Regions from separate parts of the Homo sapiens genome. Here region 2 is linked to region 1. Evidence: promoter capture Hi-C in human tissues and cell types (Jung and others, 2019). All regions are on one chromosome and are shown on one strand. The core of a region is centred on a gene start or on the middle of the fragment in contact, and the rest is flanking DNA. Distances in the headings are between cores, read along the strand shown.

Region 1 (5,536 bases), core at 1,866-4,365:
TCTCATAAACATTTTATTCATGCCTAAAAACTGGAAACAACCCAAATGTCCACCAATACAACAGATAAACTTTTGTATATTCATAGAGCGGAATACTACTCACTAATATAAAGAAATGAACTATATGCAACATTGGTGAATGTCTAAAATACTGTGCAGAGTGAAAGAAGCTACACACAAGAGAGTATATACAGTATGATTTCACTTGTATGAAATTATAAAACAAGCAAAATGAATCTATGGTGTAAGGAGGCCATGTAAAGAGAAAGAGAAGGCCAGCCAGCCCAGTATCCCAGCTGAGCCTAACCTAGATTGCAGAATAATGAGAAATAATAAAATGATTGTTGTTTTAAGCCACTAGGTTTTGGAGTGATCTGTTACACAGCAATCAATAATCAGCATCATTGCTTTCCTCATGGAATTGTCAGAAGTATGTGATATGACACATATGGAAGGGCTCTGTAAGTGGACAAGTGCTAAGCACTTGTGAGCGGCAGTTATCTCTGGGCATATGTGCAGATTGGGGTTAGTGCTCATTAGGGATATGTCCATTTGAGAATTAACCTGTGGAATTCAGAGGGTCTTACTACCCAACCAATATAACCTTTGGTTTCTTCTATCCCTCTCCTTCCTCTTGAGCAGCCATCCACAACTGCTTCTGGGGAAGAGAGAGAGAGAAAGAGAAAGAAAGATGTTCATGGTTTGTTAAAAAAATAAAAGAAAATAACATTTACAAATGGCCAGAGTAGAAAAGATGTACCAATTTCATTTATCTTGTTAAGGAATGGGGCTAGATTGAAGATTAGCCAATGCTTATAATTTTTGAGGCTCTAAGAAATACCTTTGAAGTTAGAGAAGGATGGAGAGAAGTGAGAGGGAGTCACCATGGTCTAAGGGGCTGGTCCTCAATCTGGTCCGTGACATGTTGATCAGGCTCAGGGAAATTAAATTAAATGAACCAAATTCCCAAGAAACTGCTTGATCAACCAGAACGCCAGTTTATCCACTTGCAATGAGAAATGCAATTTCCAAGCCACAGTATTTGGTTCTGTCAGGTGGTAAGGAGAAGATTACCCTGGGAAACCAGATTACTTGACCTGGTAAGAGTTTCATGTCTGGAAACATGGGGAAGTGAGGACATGCGGAGAATCATGAGCAGGTGGAGCACTTTGGGCGTGCTGAGTAATGTCAGTGGACTGTTACACAAAGCTTAGGTAACGCATCTTTCATGCACCTGGAATCTGCAATCTAACAGATTTCTAACCAGGCTGAGAGGATGCTCTCAGTCCTGCCAGTTTATGGACTTACAGGGATGTAAGGAACTCAAGACAGGGAAATAGCCTCTGTCTCCAAAAGGATAGCGGAGATGAGGTCCCTTTTTTATTTTTTAAAAAAACAATATAATATAATTGATGGATTCAGACCGTTCACGAGAGACTATTACCTCCACGCCCAGCTCAGGCACCTTCTCTAGAATCCCTTTCCTAATAATGTAAGTGCCCCTGTCACCTCCATCTATCCATTTTTGTTCTTTTAAGCCTATTTTATATTATTTGCTTATATGCCAAACCCTAAACGATGAGTTCTTGAAGGTTAAAATTATGTTTTATTCATCTTTTTTCACTAGCCCCCGCATAGTCGCTGGCATACATACCGTGGTGCTCAATAAATGCATGTGGCATTAACTAAAAGTTTGCTGTTTCTGGAATTCGTCTGAAACCTGAAACACTGCAACAACATCTCACTTAGAATGTTGCCTTACCCTTTTGCCATAATTTTAGAGTGAGGAAGTAGAGGTCACTAGATTACGTGTCCTTTTATGAAGAACCTACAGCTCAGGGCAGAAAGGCACTTGCCGGAATCACCCTGCCAGGGAACTCTGAACCCCGCTGCGCCGCCGCTCCTGATCTCTGGGGTTTCAGGCGCCTCCTCTCTTACAACCCTCTCCTGGGGAAGTAAACCCCATCAAGACACCACCACATCCTTCCCCAGCGACTCAGCCTGGGGTCACAAAGGCCTTTACGTCCCACTGAAAAACGGTTTTCTTTCATTTGTGCCCATTCGTTCTTGCAGCCCCTTCCCCAGATCGAAGACTAGGGTCTTAGTAAGGAGAGGTAAGGAGGGAGGGGAAGAACCTGCCTGGCCCCCCGCGGAGCTCTGCAGGGGGCGTCGCGGCTGCACGCCAGCGCCCGCACCACCCCAGGCGGGAAGGGAGTTATCACACAGGGGGTCGCACGCAGATCTCGGGGACCGTGGGTGCCACGAGGTCAAACTGGCAGAGGGAGACGCTGCAGCTGCTGTAACAGCAAGGAAAGCCGAAGCCCCCTTAGGGGATACTTTACAAAATTATTTTAATCACCGTGCAAACCTAATAACTTGACCCAAGCGCAATCACCTGTATTCACCCAGAGTAAATATTCCTAAAATCCCGTTCAGTGTGTCTGTGTCTCTCCCGCCTCTTTCCGTTTCAGGCAAATGTCTACCCCCCCTCTCCCCCCACCGTTAACACCTCTCTGCAGCGTGGGAAACAGTGCCCAGCAGCTCAGTCCTCCGCTTCCCGCTCTGCTTTTTGCATCCCATTCGGACTTATAGGAAGTAGTTATTTTTTGGTGGTGGTGGAAACTGGGCAAGAAAGAAGACGCTAAGCTTGGCCGGGGCCAGGAGAAATATTGAGAAGGGTCGTTACCTTCCATCCGATCTAAACCAATCATCTCAAACTTGGCTACTCTTTGGAACCACCTGGGGAGCTTTAAAAATTATGGACGCCCTGATAGCACCGCAGAGGTTCTGATCTAATTGATCTGGGATGCGGCCTGGGTATCGCGATTTTTTTAAAACTCCTCAGGTTATTCCCAGCTTGAAAACTATGGATATAAATTTCTCATTCCTCTTCCCACCCAGACCAAAAAAAAAAAAAAAAATCTAAGCCTAAGTTGATGGCCCAGGGAATCTGGCACCTGCTCCCCTGCAACCAGCCAGTGCTGCAAGGTCCCCGAAAATCGGCGCGAGCGGCGACGCTAAACACGCGGCGGCGGGGCGAGCGGGCCAGGCGGGCGGTGCCGCGCGTGGCCCCGCCCCCGCACGCCTATGGGCGCGAGGTGCGGGCCCTGACGTCACTCTTGTCAGGGCCGCGGCACATGGGCGGCCGGATGCGCTGAGCCCGGCGCTGCGGGGCCGCGGAGCGCTGGGGAGCAGCGGCCGCCGGCGCGGGGAGGGGGGTGGGGTGGGACGGCGCACCGCCTCCGGTGCTGGCACTAGGGGCTGGGGTCGGCGCGGTGTCTTCTGCCCTTCTGCAGCCGTCGACATTTTTTTTTCTTTCTTTTTTTCAATTTTGAACATTTTGCAAAACGAGGGGTTCGAGGCAGGTGAGAGCATCCTGCACGTCGCCGGGGAGCCCGCGGGCACTTGGCGCGCTCTCCTGGGACCGTCTGCACTGGAAACCCGAAAGTTTTTTTTTAATATATATTTTTATGCAGATGTATTTATAAAGATATAAGTAATTTTTTTCTTCCCTTTTCTCCACCGCCTTGAGAGCGAGTACTTTTGGCAAAGGACGGAGGAAAAGCTCAGCAACATTTTAGGGGGCGGTTGTTTCTTTCTTATTTCTTTTTTTAAGGGGAAAAAATTTGAGTGCATCGCGATGGAGAAAATGTCCCGACCGCTCCCCCTGAATCCCACCTTTATCCCGCCTCCCTACGGCGTGCTCAGGTCCCTGCTGGAGAACCCGCTGAAGCTCCCCCTTCACCACGAAGACGGTGAGCGCTGCCGCGGCCCCGCTCCGGGAAGGGACGACGCTCCGGGGGTCCCCCTCCGCGGCCGGGCACGCCCGCTGGAGCATCCCCCAACCCCGCTCCCGCCCTGTCCCGCGGCGCCCCGGCCCCGCGCTGATGAAATTGAGGAGCTCACCCAGCACCCTTCCTCCCCTTCCTCCTCCTCCATGAAAGGGGAGGGACCCCTCCTGAGCTACATTTAAAAGAGCTTCGGGCACCCGGCCTCCCTGGGTCCCGCTCCTGCGGCGCGGGTGGGAGGTGTAACTTGACAGGTCAGGATCGTTCCCTAGAACGAGGCACACCCGCACGCAGAGCGAGCCCGCCTGCGGAGGGCAGAGCCTCCCGGGCTGGGGAGGAGAAACCCTGGGGCCTGGTTCTGTGCGGGGCAGGGGGCGGGGGTCGGCTTGAGGGAGGGGGTTTCACTGCGTAGCCTGGGTTTTGGGGTTGTGTTACAGCTTCTGTTACTGGTTAGTATTTGGAACTCACGAGGTGTGAGAGAAGACTCGTTTTCTTCTGGTGAAGGGTAGCTGAGAAAGCGGGGTGGGGGCTGGGGCCGGTGGGGGGAGTGGTCTCTCGGCGGGAAGCCGTGCACGCCTCCAGCGTTGACACTTTCCCGGTGCACTTTTTCTGGTGGGAGGGGAGAGCGGAGCAGGCTCACGTGTAACCGCGCAGGAGCCTCCTCTGGCTTGAGCCCTTTCTTGGTAAGTCCCAAACCTTCCCAAGACAACCTTGGCCTTAGCAGTAGAGGAGGGGTACGTGTGATGAGGCCCCAAACCCGGCTAAGTGATGCCACGGATTTGGGTTGATGCGATTTCATGCCTTCGGTATCACAGTAGCAAATGCGAACCGTGCGGCTCACAGTGTAAAGTTCTGAAAGGTTATTTGGCTACAAATAGCTTGGGAGTACTTGCACCTTCTTTTCTAGGAGAGGACAACCTGTTGCATTGCAAGAGTTTGCAATCTGCAGATGATAGCCAGGGACCCCTCCCTAACTATCCTTTAAGGAAGAGCATTTGGGAGGAAGGGGCTGCCTGCAGGCTTTTGCATCTGTGGGTGTTTTAAGTCAGATTTTCAGATGAGATGGTAGAGGGTTAGAATGGATGGCAGTGGAGGCTGTGTTTCTCTGAAGATGAAACTCAGAAGCAAATTCCTTAATCCCAGATTCCACCCACGACTGAATACTAGAATTGGCAAGATCCGGAATGCTTGTTAAAGACCTAATGGGCGAGCAGTACTTCCAGGTAGCAAATAGCTGCATACTTCCAACATAAATGTATAGAATAACTCACCTTTTCCAATAGCTCTGCTTTTGAAAGGTTTTGTAAATGCATACTCTTTGTAAATTGGATCATACTCAAATGTTTGGAGAAGAGAAGGAAGAAAACACTTTGTATTTTTTTAAACTCCTTTTGTAAAAATCAGTGTGCCCCAGTGGCTTTAGAAGCAAACACATGTGAGCTCAGAAAGTTCTCATTCTCTGCCAACATGAGGCATTGGTCAAGTTCCCTCAAGTCTCAGAGCCTCCGAGTCTTTGTTGTAAATGGAGGTAATTGTTATTTTGCAAGTTTATTGTGAGATTTTTGAGATAATATATGGAAAGAACCAGGTATCCAGTAGGTACTCTAAACATGATGTTAAAGAAGGGTGGAAGGTCCCTGCTTTACCAAAATTAAGACCACTAACTCACTGGCTTTGTAAGTCTGAATGACCTCCTATTGCTGCTGTGATGAATTCCTGGAAGATAATTCAAGCCTGGTTATTGGCTG
Region 2 (5,356 bases), core at 880-3,379, 500 kb after region 1:
TCTCAACTTGGGAACCAATAGACATTTCTACCTGTTCTGTTTTTATAGAAGACTGGACTTTATGAGTATAAAGTCTTTGGTGTTCTGGAGGACTGCTCACCAACTCTACTGGCAGACATCTATATGGACTCAGATTACAGAAAACAATGGGACCAGTATGTTAAAGGTGAGTGATGCTTGCTTTTCTTTTTTTTTTAGACGTACTTTCACTTTTGTAGCCCAGGGTGAAGTGCAAAGGTAGGATCTCAGCTCACCGCAATCTCCGCCTCCTGGGTTCAAGCGATTCTCCTGCCTCAGCCTCCTGAGTAGCTGGGACTACAGGCGCCCGCCACCACACCTGGCTAATTTTTGTATCTTTAGTAGAGACAGGGTTTCTCCATGTTAGTCAGGCTGGTCTTGAACTTCTGACCTCAGGTGATCCGCTTGCCTTGGCCTCCCAAAGTGCTAGGATTACAGGCATGAGCCGCTGCACCCAGTGCTTTTTTTTTTTTTTTTTTTTGATCATTAAAAAGTAGATCTATTCTGACCAGATGCAGTGACTCACGCCTGTAATCCCAGCACGTGGGGAGGCTGAGGCGGACAGATCACTTGAGGCCAGGAGTTTGAGACCAGCCTGGCCAACATGGTGAAATCCCGTCTCTACTAAAAATACAAAACTTAGCTGGGCATGGTGGCGCATGCCTATAGTCCCAACTACTTAGGAGGCTGAGGCACTAAGAATTGCTTGAACCCAAGAAGCAGAGGTTGCAGTGAGCCAAGACTGTACTTCAGCAGGGACAACAGAGGGAGACCCTGTCTCAAAAAAAAAAAAAAGTCTAATCTATTTTTATTTATTCTTGCCAGTAGAAAAAAATAAAATTAACTTCTACTACATAGTGCTTCCTATTAAATTTTGGCACAAAAGCATTTTAAATGTTGGACTGAAATGCACTTTTGCTATTGCTAGGACTTGCTCCTTACCTAGTTTTAGATCCTCTCCACAGTTTGCTCTTGGGGCTCCTTTGCTGCCACTTTTAAGTTGTGTGATCCTCCCATGTATCTAGGTTGTCATGAAAGGGGAGGAGGTGCGGTCCAAGTTTTGGTTTGAGAGTTGAATCAAAATTTTCCAAACAGAGAAGAATACATGTATGTGAGGAGGTAAGAGAGGGACAGGATGACTGGTTAAGAGCATTCTAGGCTCAGGGATCAGCATTAGTAAGGTCAGGAAAGCGTGAAGCAATATGTTCAATAGCCGCCAGCAGTTTGGTGTTGTTGGGTTGGTTGGAGTAAGAGAACCTATCCTAGGTCTTCGACTACTGTTAGTACTAGTTCTACTACTACTATTGTTAGTACTGCTAGTACTAGTAGAACTAGCTAATAGAACTAGTACTAGTAGTAGTCGAAGAGCTAGGGTAGGTTCTTCTACTACTAGGCGAACTAGGGCAGCTGTTGGGTCCAGATCCTCCAGGGCCTAGCATGGCGACCAGGCTATCGGTCTTAGATTTTTCCCTGTAAGTTATGTGTTATGAAAGACATCACACAGGGACTTCTCCTGCCACTTAGAGCTGGAGTAGCCTCTGCCAACCCAGTCATAGTGGAATGGAACTATGAAACTAGCCAAAGGCACATAAAGCCTTTAGTCAAGACTCTTGGTTGCAAGTAACAGAAAGCCAACTAAAGACAGTGTAAGAAGAGAAAAAGGAGTTTATTAGTTCATGGCATTGAAAAAAGTCCAGGGGTTTCTAACTTTGAGGACAGCTGCAACAGGGAACTTAAATAATTTCATCAGGATTGTTTCTTTCTCCATCTGTAGACTCTGTTTTCTTCTGTGTTGACCTAATTCCTAGGCAGATTCTTATGTCATGGCCAAGATGTCTGCCAGAAGATCCAGATTTATATTCTAACCATATGAATAACCCCAGAGGAAGGAGAATTCTACTTTTCTAGGGATGACAGCCAGATGCCAGGATTGGCTCTTGTCAGCTCAGCTTGGAGTTTGTGCTTATTTTCTGTGGACATTCATCATGGTTTTGGGCAACTTAGTGTTCTCAAATACTCTTCCTATTTAGGGGGCAGTGGGATGCTTACCTATCCAAGGGAACAGCCAGACACTGTCTGTCCAGGCCTCCCTTGCAGCCAAGATACAGTCATGTGACATAGACTCTGCCAATAAGACCCACATGTGGCTTCAATTTGGAAAAGAGCCATGTGAGGAAGCAGGCAGCATGGAAGATCCATTTTTCAGTGACCAGTGATGGCATCTGACTTTAGGGAAAACAACTGCTGAGTCTCTGATGTTTGCTCCCCAACATCAACAGCTTTCACTCTGGGTTCTCATCCAGTGGAAGCAGCAGTTAGGCTTTGCTGGAACAATCTTGAGGTTGGAAATCTCACTCTGGTCCATCCGAGAGCTTTACTAAATCACTTTTTGCTCTCAACTTGCTAGAGTGACTAACTACGACTCTGGACAGATCTGCCATCCCTGAATTCGTCACCATGGCCGTGTCTTGCTCATTTTCCCAGCCCTGAAATTACTGCAGAGTCAGTCTTGCGAAACCATGCAGCTGAGAAGTAGGGGAAGGGTGATGCCCTGAAGGAAAATTGAGATGCTCAAGGGGCGATCAATGCTGAGCATGTAAAAGCAACAGATGTCCACCTCTCCCTTTCTTTTAAGGACTCTCATCAGCCTCCTGTGACCTTAATGGGCTGGCACACTCCTTAATCTACAGTGTGCTTCTAATAGATTTTCTTTCAAAACCTAAATTATCCCTCCTTACCATCTCCTCCAGGGACTTTGGGCTCCTTTAACTGGAGGTAGAAAGAAGTTTACTGCACAGCACAGTCTGGGGACAGAGGGTGTGCATGCCATTAAATTTCTTTGCTATCTCCCTCCAAGAGTTGGCTGCTGTTTGCACATAATAGTAAGACGGAAGGATTATTAGGGAAATTTGGTCACCCTAGCTGTGGCATAGTGCAAAGAAACATGGGAGAGAAGAAAGAAACTTGGGGTAAGCCATAGTTCTGCTGATCTCTAACTATTCAAGAAGGACGTTGCTCATTCTGGAACCTTCATATCCGACCTATGAATGTGCTAGACTGGGTGACTCCGTTCCAGGTTAGCTGTAATGGATCAAGGAATCCTAAAGGGGAATTAAAGGGCTCAGAAGCAAAACTATTGGTACTCTAGTGACATCTGGTGGTTATCCTGAATTTAAAACCTCTGACTATTTTTTTGATGTCTGATTTTGTTTCATTGCATTCTATCAAGAATATTGATTATGCTATAGAATGGCCAAGATTTGTTGGCTTCTTTTATTTGTGCTGTGTTTTTCTATCCACTAGACTCTGTCCCTGGGCAATAAGCTTTCAGTGGAAATTAATCGGTTTGACTTTTTTCTAGAATTTTATACCTTATGAGTTAGTGGTTTATCATAACCTAAGAGGTCATCTTTTTTTTTTTTTTTCTTGAGACATGGTGTCATTCTGTCACCCAGGCTGGAGTGCAGTGGTGCAATCATGGCTTGGCTCACTGCAGCCTTGACCTGCTAGGCTTGGATGATCCTCCTACCTCAGCCTCCAGAGTAGCTGGGACTACAGACATGCACCACCATACCTGGCTGATTTTTTTGCTTTTTTTTTTTTTTATATATAGAGATGGGGTTTCACCATATTTCCCAGGCTGGTCTTGAACTCCTGGACTTGAGCAATTGACTCACCTTGGCCTCAAAAAGTGCTGGGATTACAGGCATGAGCCACCATGCTTGGCCTAAGAGGTCATACCCTTATTAGTTGTAGCTAAAAAGGCTTCCAGATGCATTAACTTCTTTTGCTTTCCTTTAGAACTCTATGAACAAGAATGCAACGGAGAGACTGTGGTCTACTGGGAAGTGAAGTACCCTTTTCCCATGTCCAACAGAGACGTATCCTTTCCACAAGGTACTCATTCCCTGGCCCTCTAAGTGTTTCTGTGTTCCTCAGCTGCAGTCTATTGCAGAGAGGTAGAGCTGGTTTCTCAGCAGGCACAGATAACATTGTCTCTGATTCTTGCAGCAGCATTTGCTAAAGATATTGCTTCTTGTATGGTGTTTGGAGAGCTCAGAGTGTGATTTCTGGGCCCAACCACATGAAGTGTCTGTAATTTTGGTCACTGGAGAGCAGCTCTTACTTTCCTAAGAAGTTTCCTAGGCCTTGAAATTGTCAGGCCACAGAATTGGGGATCTGGAAGGAACTTCTTATAAAAAGTGCTTGTTACAGCTCCCTCAGTCTACAGAAGGAAAAAGGGCTCCCAAAGAGGTGATAGGACAGAGGCACATAGGTGGTTAGTGGCAGAGCAGGTGCTGGAACTCAGGCCTCTGCATTTCCAGCTCTCTCCGCCTCCCCCATCTCAGTAGACCCCACAGAAATCCCTCCTTGATTGTTGGCTCTGGACACTGACTGTAAGCTTCTTCCCCTCAATGTCCTTGTTTATGAAATGAAGCAGTTGAATGAAATGTAGGGAGGCTTGGCTGGCACTGTAAGGTCTTCAGAAGCCCCCTTAGGACTAAGCTGGGGGGCTAGGATGGAATTTTGGGGGTGGGTAGGATGGAAGTAGGATGACTCCTAGGTAAGATTTTGACTCCTTCACCATGCTCTTCAATCCCAGCAGCGGAGTGTTTTACAGGTTCAATTTCCATGTAAGATCCTTTTAGCAAAGGGTCTCTTGGAGTCAAAAAAAAGTTTGGAAGCCACTGAATTAGATGAACTGCCAACACTTCAAAGGTGTTCTGCCAAATTTTAATCACTATATCAAGATAATTCTTCCTCCGTGGAGTATCAGATGATATCTATCACATGAGCTGAGAAAGTTGGGGGAGAGAGTGGAACAATATTTGCTAAAAGGAAAAAGTAAAAGGTGTAGGAGAAAGGAACCCAGTGACAAATCAACATCTCTTTCCTGAAACATTTAAGAACTTTACTTATTAGTGTATAAGAGCATGGAGCAATAGACTGTCCAATGTGAGGGTGGGGCAACAGGGGGCGCTGTCAAGACACTGAGGTGGGACTGAACGCGGGTGGCTCACGCCTGTAATCCCAACACTTTGGGAGTCCAAAGTGGGCAGATCACTTGATGTCAGAGTTCGAGATCAGCCTGGCCAACATGGAGAAACCCTGTCTCTATTAAAAATACAAAAAAATTTAGCTGGGTGTGGTGGGCGCCTGCAATCCCAGCTACTCCGGAGGCTGAGGTGGGAGGATCACTTGAACCCAGGAGGTGGAGGTTGCAGTGAGCCGAGATCGTGACACTCTACTCCAGTCTGGGTGAGACTCTGTCTCAAAAAAAAAAAAAAAAAAGACACTGAGGTGGGTGGAGGCTGAGACGGCTGCCATGTTATAGTAA

Evidence for each region. The method cuts DNA at HindIII sites, captures the fragments that hold promoters and counts their contacts. A contact is called where the count stands out against the background at its distance.
Region 2: a fragment that was not itself captured here is called in contact with the fragment with the promoter of HLF in region 1 in 1 of the 25 tissues and cell types used here (dorsolateral prefrontal cortex).

What each region holds. Positions count from the first base shown.
Region 1 is chr17:55,261,845-55,267,380 of GRCh38, forward strand. HLF (HLF transcription factor, PAR bZIP family member) reads left to right here and starts at 3,116. Exons shown (of 4, transcript NM_002126.5): 1 at 3,116-3,755. The coding sequence starts at 3,641. RefSeq lists a silencer at 2,920-3,239. The HindIII fragment of the contact is 14,198 bases long and covers 1,928-5,536 here.
Region 2 is chr17:55,767,287-55,772,642 of GRCh38, forward strand. It overlaps PCTP (phosphatidylcholine transfer protein), which reads left to right. Exons shown (of 6, transcript NM_021213.4): 2 at 49-166; 3 at 3,820-3,899. Among named protein-coding and RNA genes, the nearest start is that of PCTP, 19 kb to the left of the region's middle. The HindIII fragment of the contact is 3,503 bases long and covers 379-3,881 here.